4 separate regions of the Homo sapiens genome follow, and regions 1, 2 and 4 are each linked to region 3. The links are contacts of gene promoters, found by promoter capture Hi-C in human tissues and cell types (Jung and others, 2019). All regions are on one chromosome and are shown on one strand. Each heading gives the region's core, a stretch centred on a gene start or on the middle of the fragment in contact. The rest is flanking DNA. Distances are from core to core; before and after follow the strand shown.

Region 1 (2,700 bases), core at 143-2,642, 300 kb after region 3:
ACAAAATTGTGCATGTAACTTCATATAAATGAGAAACATGCCCATCAAATGAGAAAGAAAGGCTGGGTGGACAGATGTTTATCGACCACAGTGGCTGCAGCCTTTCAGTCCTAAATGTCAGCAGCAGTGGGAAGCAATGCTGAGGAGAGGCAGAAAAAAGAGAAAGGGAAATGAGCGTTGAGGAAGAGGAAAATAGAAAGAGGCGTACATATAATTGTAGTGGGGACAGGGGGCACCCTTATTTTCTAGTGCTGTGATGTGCTCCTGGTATTTCTTCTTGTAAGACAGCTGGAAGGAGCGTTGCATGGAAAGGCCCCTGCTGCCCCAGCAAACCCACGGTGCACTTGCTGCGCTTTCCTCTTGGTGGGTGCGGTTGAGTTGTCAGGAGCTCAATAGGTTGTAACCCATGTGAGCTTGCCCACAGGAAGGTGGGAGGCTCACCTCTCCTGCCAACTCCCCAACCAAGTCAGAATTAATCACTTCTCAATGCCCCATGTATTCTGTATTTTGCAAATATGAAGAAACCTGTATACATGGAATAGATTATGGAATTTGAGGTAGCATGGTGCGGGGTGGAATTTAGGGATAATTTTATTCCAAACGCTTCATGTCATGGATAAGGAAGTTTGAAAATTGGAGAAATAGGCTGGGTGTGGTGGCTCACGCCTGTAATCCCAGCACTTTGGGAAGCTGAGGCGGGCAGATCATGAGGTCAGGAGATCGAGACCGTCCTGGCTAACACGGTGAAACCCTGTCTCTACTAAAAATACAAAAAAATTAGCTGGGTGTGGTGGCGGGCGCCTGTAGTCCCAGCTACTCGGGAGGCTGAGGCAGGAGAATGGTGTGAACCCGGGAGATGGAGCTTGCAGTGCGCCGAGATCGCGCCACTGCACTCCAGCCTGGGTGACAGAGCTAGACTCCGTCACAAAAAAAAAAAAAAAAAAAAAATTGGAGAAATAAAGTGACTGTATAAGATGATATAAAATGTTTGCTGCAAATCTGGGTCCATTCTTCCGTGCACAGTCTTGACAAGCTGGTTCTTGCCTCTGCTCTGTTCTTGGAGGCTTAAGGTTGCTCAGAGAGTGTCTCTTGTGGGGGACCCAAAACTTATGACACCTGTAAGTGGTCAGAATGGAAGCTGAGTGGGAGAGCAATGCAGAGAAACTTGGTGGTTTCTCTCCCACAGCCTTCCAGGGGAGTAAATATTTCTCACTTAAATAATGATAAAGATTATTATCACTAATAATAATCATCATAGCTAATCATGGAGAATTTACTGTCAGGGCTTGTTTTAAATGTTTTAATATATTTATATATTAAATATTAAAATATGTTATATATTTAATATTCTTAACATTCTAATGAGGTAGGAACAATTATCCTCACTTTTGGAGATGAGAAAATTGAGGCACAGAGAAGTAGAGAAGTTAGGTGGCCAAAGTCACTCTACTGATAAGTGACAATATTAGGATTTGAACTCGGAGAATTGGATCCAGTGTCTGTATTCCTAACCACTATTCTATTTAAAGAAGAGAAGTAGGAAATAAAGAGACATAGAGAGAAATAGAGAAGGGGAGAAAAGGAGAGGGGAGTGAGAAGGGAGTGGAAAAGACACTGAAGCTTATTAGAAATCTGTGCACTAGAAAATATTTCTCCTCACAGAAATGAGGTGATCTACAGAAAACTTTTAACTTTGTGGTAAACAAATTTTTGTAGAATAATATTTCCAAGACTTTCTACTTACAATAGCTCCTTTATGCCAAAAATTCTTGAAGTGTTAAGATGTCATCAAGATTCGGGAACATGGGTACTTAAGCCTGGACCCTATGGCTGCTGAAGTCTTGCCAAGATCGTGGAGTTGGTGGATCTCCAATCTCTTCCTGTTCTGCGTTTTGGAGTCCAGACAAATGGAAGGGTAGGAGTGGGTATAAAGGACGGTAAGAGAGAGGAGGCTTTATATTTATTGAATCTCTTTGCAAATTTCTGTCTTATAGCTCAAGGAGTTTATTGTAAAATTTCCTGAAGAATAAACAATTCTGTTTATAGGATCACATTTGGTAAACTTTCATTTATTTTTAACTTTGTTACATTTCTATTATAAATTTGGTCTGGTCTCTGAAAGTAATAGACCTATATGACATTAAACATAAGATCTGAAAAAATGAAAGAAGAATACACATTCAATTAACTACTTGTTTGGCTAATGTGTCACATCAGTGGCTTACCTGCTTCTTAAAATCAGCTGATTTTCAAGCTAACTAGTTAACTAACTAGTTCATAATAAAGCTATGATCTTATATTCTCTTCACCTTGCCTTATTCTTGTAGCTTTAAAATGCAAAGGTTAATGCTGTAAGTGTACTGTCCAGCGTTTTAAATCTGGGCAGTCTAAAGGGGAAACAGATGAGTTTTCTCAAATAGTTAGCATTTGGCTAAGCTTGCTTTCCCAAAAGCTTAAAATAGGAAAAGTCTCCTTTTGCCCTGTTTATTCCTTGGTGTGGTGTTTATTCACCTAGCTGTCAAGCTTTCTTCCTATCTTCATCTCTCATTAAAACCTGTTCAGGTGCTTCATTTGGACTCCAGTGAATATGAACTCAGACAGATGTTTGAATATTGGCAAGAATCATAACAATATAAAGGGATAAAAATATGTAGAAGCAAAATATGTGACAAAAACAGCACAAAGACTGAAAGAGGGGAA
Region 2 (2,700 bases), core at 34-2,533, 270 kb after region 3:
TTTTATAATAAATTAATTTTTTAACGATAAGTGAGATTATGGGGTGGGCACAGAAATATAATGCAAAATTTAAAATGTCAGCAATTAAAGACCAGAACTAGGATGAAATCTGTTTAATTGACAACTCTGATGTGTTGGAGACTGATAGGCACTATTTTTTCACTCTTTGTATTTATAATTCTGTAATAGAAATGAATGTTCTTGTCAAACAGAAGCCTCTCTTGCTGGAGGAGTGAGCTCGAGTGGCTCCTGGGCATGAACAGAGAGCCCAACCCAGAGGGCTTAGCTACTTTGAGCTGCTTTGGTCTGGCTGTTGGTTTTCCAGGTCCGAGCATCACATGTGAAAGGCAGTACGGCTGTCATCACTCATAGTCATTTTACCCTAAATCTGCTATAATTCACAGTGATCACTTAATTTGAGCAGTTACATAATTTTTAGTTATCTTTTTTACAGTTCTGTATTTTAAAAAATTCCAAAGGGGGAATTTTTATTTTAGTAGTCAGAAAATAAGTTATTATAATAATAAAAAATAACCTTTATGGATTTAGAAATGCTTTACTGTTTGCAAGATACTTTGATAACTGCCATCCTCAGTGACTGTCACAACCACCTCTCTGATCTCTGTAATGTGTCTACTTGCAGGTGGACTTTGGTTCTTGTCTTATTGTCTTCTGCCCACCAGAAGTCCTGCTCCACGGTTCTCCAGCCCCCTCAAACCCGGGGGCCTTCACCTCAACTCCAGTTCTGTCACCCTCTTCTGGGGATACACACGGCCACTGAGTCTCAGTCAGTTATGGCTCAGAAACACTTTTGAGGTTATGAATCCTCTCTCAGGGAGAAAATGATCTTTCAGACCTCACTTGATATTTCCCCAAAAGTTGCAAGGGGTTTGCAAACCCCTGGGAGCCCATCCATTTGCCCCTGCCTGGCCTGAAACTTCTCTACCCCTGGAATCTTGGTCCTAACCTGTCATTCTGATCCACAACTTATCCTTCCAATGCTCTCCCTCCTTTGCAACCACAACACCTTTTCTTTGATCTCATCTACACTTCCAGGCCCTAATTTCCCATCAGTCTATCAGAACCCACCGGTAGTAATGTCTTTTCCTAAGTAGCTCAAACACCACACTCCAACATTCCAACTTGTTTTGTCTCCCCTTTCTTTCTTTTTTTTTCTTCTTTTGAGACTGAGTCTCACTCTGTCGCCCAGGCTGGAGTGTAGTGGCGTGATTTCGGCTCACTGCAACCTCCGCCTCTTGGGTTCAAGCAATTCTCCTGCCTCAGCCTCCTGAGTAGCTGGGACTACAGGCGCGTGCCACCACGCCTGGCTAATTTTTGTATTTTTAGTAGAGATGGGGTTTCACCATCCTGGCCAGGACAGTTTCGATTTCTTGACCTCGTGATCCGCCTGCCTCGGCCTCCCAAAGTGCGGGATTACGGGTGTGAGCCACTGTGCCCGGCCATCTCCCCTTTCTTTATATTTAGCCATCAAGAAAACTCTAATCCTGGATCTAAACCACTATTCCCCTTCTCCTTTCTTACCCTTGCACCTCCTACTCCTGCTGGGGAAAGTCAGACAACTGATAACAGTTTGCCATTACACATGTATCATCTCCAACTTCATCTACACCTTAAAACTACCCAGCCGCCCCTGCTATGAACCCAGCACCTGTTTCCGAATGCCTTTGCCCTCCTCAAACTCCCCCACACCCTCCTGGTGCTCAGTCATGACCTTGCCCTCTACAGATTCAAAACGCTCTTCAAGACCTTTCCATCACAGCTCCTGGAGCCTCTACTTCTTTCCATTTGCAAGCCTTCAGGATACTGTAGGAGCCCCTTAGAGCAGCGATTTTCAGTGTGTTTCCTGGACCAGTGGCATCAGCAGCACCCGAAAACTTGTTATAAATATTGTTCTCATGCCCTGTCTAGATCTACTGAATCAGATTCTGGGAGTAAAGTAGGCCCCAGCCCCCTGAGTTTTAACAAGTCCTCCAGGTAATTCTGATGCACATTAAATTAGTGGGAGAACAATTGCCTTAAAATAAAATGCAGCCTCTGCCTGTTTCTTTAATCTTCTGCCTTGTCCCATGGCCAACTCCTCCATTCTATGGTACTCTAACGATGCAGAACTGTGGTACTAATCATTCTCCAATCTGATTAAGTTTCTTCCTGGCTCAGGGATTTGTAAAAGCTGCTACCTCAGCTTGGGAATCACTACTGCTGTCTATTATTCCCTTCACCCCTTGTTTCCCAACATGACAAGCTTCCAGGACTTCCTTCCTCCTAGAGTTAAACTCTGGATGTGAAGACAGACTGGGATGTGTGCTCTGACATTATCAGCAGAGGCCTCTGGGATTCCAGGACTATTGAAATTGGAGAGTTCCCTGACCCCCTCGAGGGACTTGTGACAGGGGTGTGGGCTTGTTTGCTCTTGCACTCAAACCCCTTATGGAGGGGGAGCACACACATGGGCAGGTGCAGGAGCTGGGACGAGTGCTTTTGGCCTCTGGCCCCATTGTAGCGTCTAGGGGTGTGTTACAATTAATGCTCTTTTAGCAGTTGCTGTCTGTGAATGGCTAAGTGTTAAAACAGCTCAGTGGAGAGTCAGGTGACTACCTTTTACACCCTGCCCTCCTGGTACCTGGCTCCTTGTCTGGTGTCCAGGTAGAATCAGGTCACATGGACTTCCAGGATGGTGAA
Region 3 (2,700 bases), core at 5-2,504:
GCCTCAGCTCCCTCCTTTCTGGGGAACCCTACTCGATCCCCAACAGCCGCTGGCCTCCAGCTGCCACAAACGAGATCCAGACTCATTACAGGGAATTCGTATTTCCCCCCCTCAAATAAAACACACACACACACACACACACACAGAGTCTCCGGGGTCCAGCCGGATCACACAGCTAAAGTTTCCGGAACTTGAATCGTAAAACCACAATCAGAAGTTGTTTGGAAATACTCGCCGCAAAGCAATCTGTCCTTTGCTTTAAAAAATAAAAAATAAAAAAAACTTTGCCCTGCATAAAGGCAGACAGTAAAGAGAGACACAAATCTAACTTGGGCAGAGGGTGTGTTCCTCTTTGTCACCCGCCGGGAACCCTCGCGCCGCGCGTGGGCGAGCGGCGGGCACCCGGCGGCATCCGCGCCAGCGGCCACCTCCCCGGCCCGCAACCGGCCTCAGGGGCCGAGATTGCGGCCCGAGGTCCGGAAGCGGCGTCCAGCGCTGTCAGCGGGCGGGTAGGACGGAAGGAAACGGGGGAAGGGCGCCGGGGTCGGGGGAGGCGAGCGGGGACCGGCGCGGAGCCCCGCAGCCCGACGTCGGCGGAGGTGAGGGGAGAGGGGCGCAGGGGGCAGCCCGGAGCCCCGAGGCCCCCGAGCTCCTGCGATGGTGGCCGGGGCTGCCCGGGCCCGACCCGCCGCCCGACTGCGCAGGGCAGGACCTCGGGGACCACGCGCCCACCTTCGCCCGCAGCCGCGGCCGTGCGCTGCGGGAGCCTGGACTCGCACAAGTTGCCGCCCGCGGCCCGGACCCCGCCGGCCCCCGCCCTCCCGCCGCGGTCATTGTTCACCGCGCGCCTCCTACCTCCACAGCGCCGGCGGCTGCGGCGGCTCCCTCTCCCGGCTCGGGCTCCGGGATCGGCGGCTCCCAAGCCCCCGGCGGCCGAGGGCGCGGCGGCGCCGGCTATTAATACCCGCGGGCGGCGGCGGCGCGGGCGCGCGAGCAGGGCTGGCGGTGGCCGGCTGAGGTCCGAGCCATCAAAGGTGGCGCGGGGCGGAGGGGAGGGCGGAGCAGGCGGGGTGGGTGGGGAGCGGGCTCCGGGTCGCCATGGCCGCCTCGACGCCGGGGCCAGCGCTACTCGCGCAGGGAGGAGCGGCGCAAAGCGGGCAGCGGCCGCGTCCCCGCCCCGCGCCCCAGCCGAGCGCCCGCACCGCTGCGCCCGCGCCGGACCCGCCGCCTCTGAGGCCGGCGAGCGGGAAGTGCAGTGGCCACCGCCCCTCCCCGGGTCTGGGCCGGCCCCTCGGCGGGGGGAGGCGGGCGCCGCGCAGCCCGAGCAGCGGGGACGCGGGAGAGCCACAGCCCCCTCCAGCGTCCGGGCCCGCGCCCTGCGCCCGCCCCGCCCCGCTCCGCTCCGCCCGGGCAGGTGCGCCCAGGGGCCTCCCGAGCCCAGCGCGCCGCCGGGGATCTGCGCCTCTCTTGGGCTTCCGGCCAGGGCCGGGCTCCGCGCGGCGCTACCTAATGCAGCGCGGGGAGCGCCACTGGCGAGACGCGAATCCAGCAGCTGTGGCGAAAAACGAACCGGGGAGAGCGGGAGACGTGTGCACGGCGAAGCCGGGAGCGGCAGGCGGGCGGTCAGGGGCTCGGACTCTGCAGGTCGCTTTTTGAGGTCCTGCCTGGGGCTGCTTCGCCTGCGACGTCGCGCGGGGAGGACAGTCTTCAGGGACCCACCGAGCCCTCCCCTCCCCCGGAGCCACAGGCACGGGCTTCCGGCACCACCCCGGGCTGCGCGGGACTTAAGCTTGGGGGAGCGGCGGCCACCCCGCGCCCGCCCACGTCCTGGCCCAGCGCCCTCCGCCCGAGCGAATCCCATGACAGTTCCCGCCCGCCCAGCCTCGGGGGACAGTGCCCTTGGGGAATGGCGTGGGGGAGGTTAGGAGTGGCTTGCGGTGCTTGAGAGCCTTCGGGGTTTCGGGAACTCTACGGAGCGGGGAGCAAGATTCAGGACCCAGGAGGCAGCGATCTAGGGGCACAGTCACCGTCCCCACCCAGCAGCTGCCGCGTTACCTTCTCTTCCCCCTTCTGAGCCTCCAGTCCCTCTCTCTAAGCGTGGCGGGAAGAGGCCTAGGGCGCAGCAAGTGACGTTCTGCCAGACCCGGGGCTAGCGGATTCCGGCCTTCGGAGGCCACTGGCTCAGAACCGTGGGCCTTTTGCGTCTTACAGGAGTTCCCTGACCTCAGACCGAGAGGGCAGATTTCACGGGAGAGGCCTCAAGTGAACTCACAGCTGGACAGGAGCTGGGCAGAAGTGGAGTGTAGGGACCCTGATAGAAGGGCGGGTTGAGACAAGAACAGGGGTCTTGGAAGTAGGGGGTGCTTGTGGGCAGCTCCTGGGGAGGAGCAGAGATGTAATACTTGCAGATTTGGTGGTCTGTGGTTGAAGAGAAGAAATGGTGGGTTTGAGGCTTTGCTCTGTCAGCCCAACCAGCTGTGTGTCACAGATCAGATTTTTTTCTGCTCGTGATTCTCTAAGTGTGGTTCTCAGACCACGACCACCACCAGCAGCCCCTGGAAACGTCAAGAAATGAACATTCTTGGGCCGCATCCCCGACCTACCTAATGAAACCTTAGCAAGCATCTGAATCGCCTGCAGGGATAAAGGACTGTCAGGCTCCATCCCCAGAGCTGCCGATTCAGTAGGTTTGGGGTGGGG
Region 4 (2,780 bases), core at 256-2,755, 320 kb before region 3:
ACCCCGTGGACTTTGGATCCTGATTCAGATAAACCAACCATGGAATGACAGTTTTTGAACAGCTGAGAACATTTAATTATACATGACATTAAGGAATTCGTGTTAATTTCAGGCACTGATAGGTAGTAAAAAGTCTGTATATTGGCACACGGAAATACTCGGGGGAAAATGTCATGATGACTGATTGATTTTAAAATATACTCGGGGAACACATGGACAAAGCTCGTATGGCAAAATGTTAATTAGTAAATTCATGCAATAGGTAGATGAGGATGCATTATATTAATATTTCTCAGTTCTTTGTATGTTTGAACATTTTCATAATAAACTTTTTTAAGTTCTGGGCCCCTGGTAAGGCACCTTACATGGCCACCTCCTCCTCTTCCACCTCCATTCTACAGATGAGAGAAACAGGGCTCAGAGGTTAGCTCTTTCATCTAACGTCACAGGACTTTGACTGTAGAACTGGCATTTCAACCCAGGTATCTTGAGACCAAGGTGCCCACTCTCGACCTCAGAGCTGTGCCCTAAGTTCTAAGCACTGCTGGAGGGGGTGACTCGCGAGCGTACACCCACTCCGGACTCCTCCTCTCTGCTCACCTCTCTTACTGGTCCTGCTGGCCCCCGGGACTCCACGGGGAATGCCGAATGCATCCAGCAGGAGGCGTAGTAGGAGTGAATTGATAAGCCATCTCCATGTAGAGGCAGAAAACATTTGGCATATTACAGTTTCTCCTGTTGTCTCTTTTGAAATTACAGCGAGGGCTTATGTTTTTAAATATCAGTTAAAAATACCTTTTTCAAAACCTCAGAAGTATTGAGACATGTTACCATTTTCCCCCTAAATACTGTGTATTGGAATAGATTCCTGCTTGGTGTTTGTAAAGATGCTTTTCTTGTTGCAGGCAGACATCTGGTCCCTGGGCATAACAGCTATTGAACTTGCAAGAGGGGAACCACCTCATTCCGAGCTGCACCCCATGAAAGTTTTATTCCTCATTCCAAAGAACAACCCACCGACGTTGGAAGGAAACTACAGTAAACCCCTCAAGGAGTTTGTGGAGGCCTGTTTGAATAAGGAGCCGAGCTTTGTAAGTTTCCCAGGGATCACAGCGTACCTCTTCATGTGCGGCTTGACTTGGTTGAGATACATCCTGTTGGGATTGCTTTAATCACTCTTTTCAGCTGTCTTCCTGGTATTATTCATTTTTCTTTTTCTAAGTAAGTATGATTGACTTCTTTGGTTTGCAAATACATTTTAATTTTTAAGTATTAAAAATCTCCTTATTTTCTTTTAGATTTCTGCCATCTCATACTTCATTGAATCTGAAGAATATTCTCCTTAATATTAAATGTGGAATCATAAATGTTTAATATTTATAGAAGATCAGGCCATAAACTGTTACACTGTTTTTAATAATGGCAAAGGTTAGCTGGAAACAAATGGCTAAATATGTCTTTAAAGTAAATGTTTTCACTTTCCAGGTGGCATGTGTTAGGAAACAAAAGATTAGAAAATATAACCAAGCCACCCTCTGTGCTTCTTCCCCTCCCCTTCCTGCCTACTTTCTCTTTTTAGGTTTAATAGACTCTGGCAGAGCCATACAGCAGTAACGACTGTGTGGCTTTGCCTCATTTTCTGTCTGAATTAGGACATTTCTTTGAAAGTAGTGTGTGTGTGTTGGTGTTGGAGGTAGCACCATATGTCCTTGTTTTGTTTCTGAGTTTTCCAGCAGAGTTAGCTGAAGGCTAAGCTGAGCCCCCCTTTTCTTAACTCTTATGTAAAAATGGGTGGTTACTTTTACAAGAGCACCATGGTTTCCTAATATGCCAGTTCTGGTAAAGGAATTAAATGGGTAATGCAACATTTTCTAAGTACGTCTAAGGAGATGCAGGCTGAGACCACCACACCAGTGTTTGATGACTACATCAGCATCGGGTGGTGGTGGGGCTTGTCCTGCATGCCACGATGCTCTGCATTTTATTACACGATGATGTTTCTTGCAGCCATCATGCACCAGCACCAGTGGAGATGTGTGCAGGCATGTCTTCCCATACAAAGCATGTGTCCTGTATGGGCTTATGCCCCAGCACACAGAGCTCCACCCCACAGCTACCGAGGAGCTGGCTGAGAGGCGAGAATATGAGCACCTCCGGGGTAGTTGGGGTTTCACCCTTGGATGGACAGGGAGGGAGAATACTTGAGGTGATCCACGTTTCTCATGAGTTTGAATCTGAAAACATGCTTGGCTCTTGTAATCAAGCTTTTGTAATTTGGAGTGAGTGGGAACTTGGTTCGACTCGGTGTTTGGGTGTTCCTGCTGTCTGTTCCCATTTGGGCCATGCTGGTTTCCTTGGGAAGCACATTCCCTGTCACTATCGCCATCCTCAAGGCAGGCAGCTGACCAGGTGCTGCTTGCGGTGGCCATGCTGAGCCCAGGGCATGGGTGAAGTCCTCAGCCCAATCACAAGGGAAGGGAGGGAGGGACCTGGGAAATAGCCCTTCTAAACCGGGAAAGTTGGTGGTGAAGCGCATCCAGTTGCTCTTTCAGCAGACAGGAAAAAGGGGATCTCCTGGCTCCTTTCCAGTTTCTCTGAGATAATTCCAAATTGACATTTCTATTATATGGTTGGATGTGGCCAAACGTTAATACAGAAAGTTAACAAAGCAGCCCAGCATGGTGGCTCACATCTGTAATCCCAGCACTTTGGGAGGCCGAGGCAGGTGCATCACCTGAGGTCAGGAGTTCAAGACCAGCCTGGCTAACATGGTGAAATCC

The links. Contacts are between HindIII fragments. The study calls those that stand out against the background at their distance.
Region 1: a contact is called between a fragment that was not itself captured here and the fragment with the promoter of FARP1 in region 3, in 1 of the 25 tissues and cell types used here (hippocampus).
Region 2: a fragment that was not itself captured here is called in contact with the fragment with the promoter of FARP1 in region 3 in 1 of the 25 tissues and cell types used here (dorsolateral prefrontal cortex).
Region 4: a contact is called between a fragment that was not itself captured here and the fragment with the promoter of FARP1 in region 3, in 3 of the 25 tissues and cell types used here (dorsolateral prefrontal cortex, lymphoblastoid cells and mesenchymal stem cells).

Annotation. Positions count from the first base shown.
Region 1 is chr13:97,839,916-97,842,615 of GRCh38, reverse strand. No RefSeq gene overlaps it. Among named protein-coding and RNA genes, the nearest start is that of IPO5, 110 kb to the left of the region's middle. The HindIII fragment of the contact is 3,919 bases long and covers 1-2,700 here.
Region 2 is chr13:97,867,734-97,870,433 of GRCh38, reverse strand. No RefSeq gene overlaps it. Among named protein-coding and RNA genes, the nearest start is that of IPO5, 85 kb to the left of the region's middle. The HindIII fragment of the contact is 6,591 bases long and covers 1-2,700 here.
Region 3 is chr13:98,141,648-98,144,347 of GRCh38, reverse strand. It overlaps FARP1 (FERM, ARH/RhoGEF and pleckstrin domain protein 1), which reads right to left and starts at 1,254. Exons shown (of 27, transcript NM_005766.4): 1 at 856-1,254. It overlaps LOC105370328 (a long non-coding RNA gene), which reads left to right and starts at 438. Exons shown (of 3, transcript XR_931670.4): 1 at 438-509. RefSeq lists silencers at 1,204-1,513, 1,754-1,803. The HindIII fragment of the contact is 5,274 bases long and covers 1-2,700 here.
Region 4 is chr13:98,464,687-98,467,466 of GRCh38, reverse strand. It overlaps STK24 (serine/threonine kinase 24), which reads left to right. Exons shown (of 11, transcript NM_001032296.4): 6 at 906-1,091. Among named protein-coding and RNA genes, the nearest start is that of FARP1-AS1, 30 kb to the right of the region's middle. The HindIII fragment of the contact is 4,204 bases long and covers 1-2,780 here.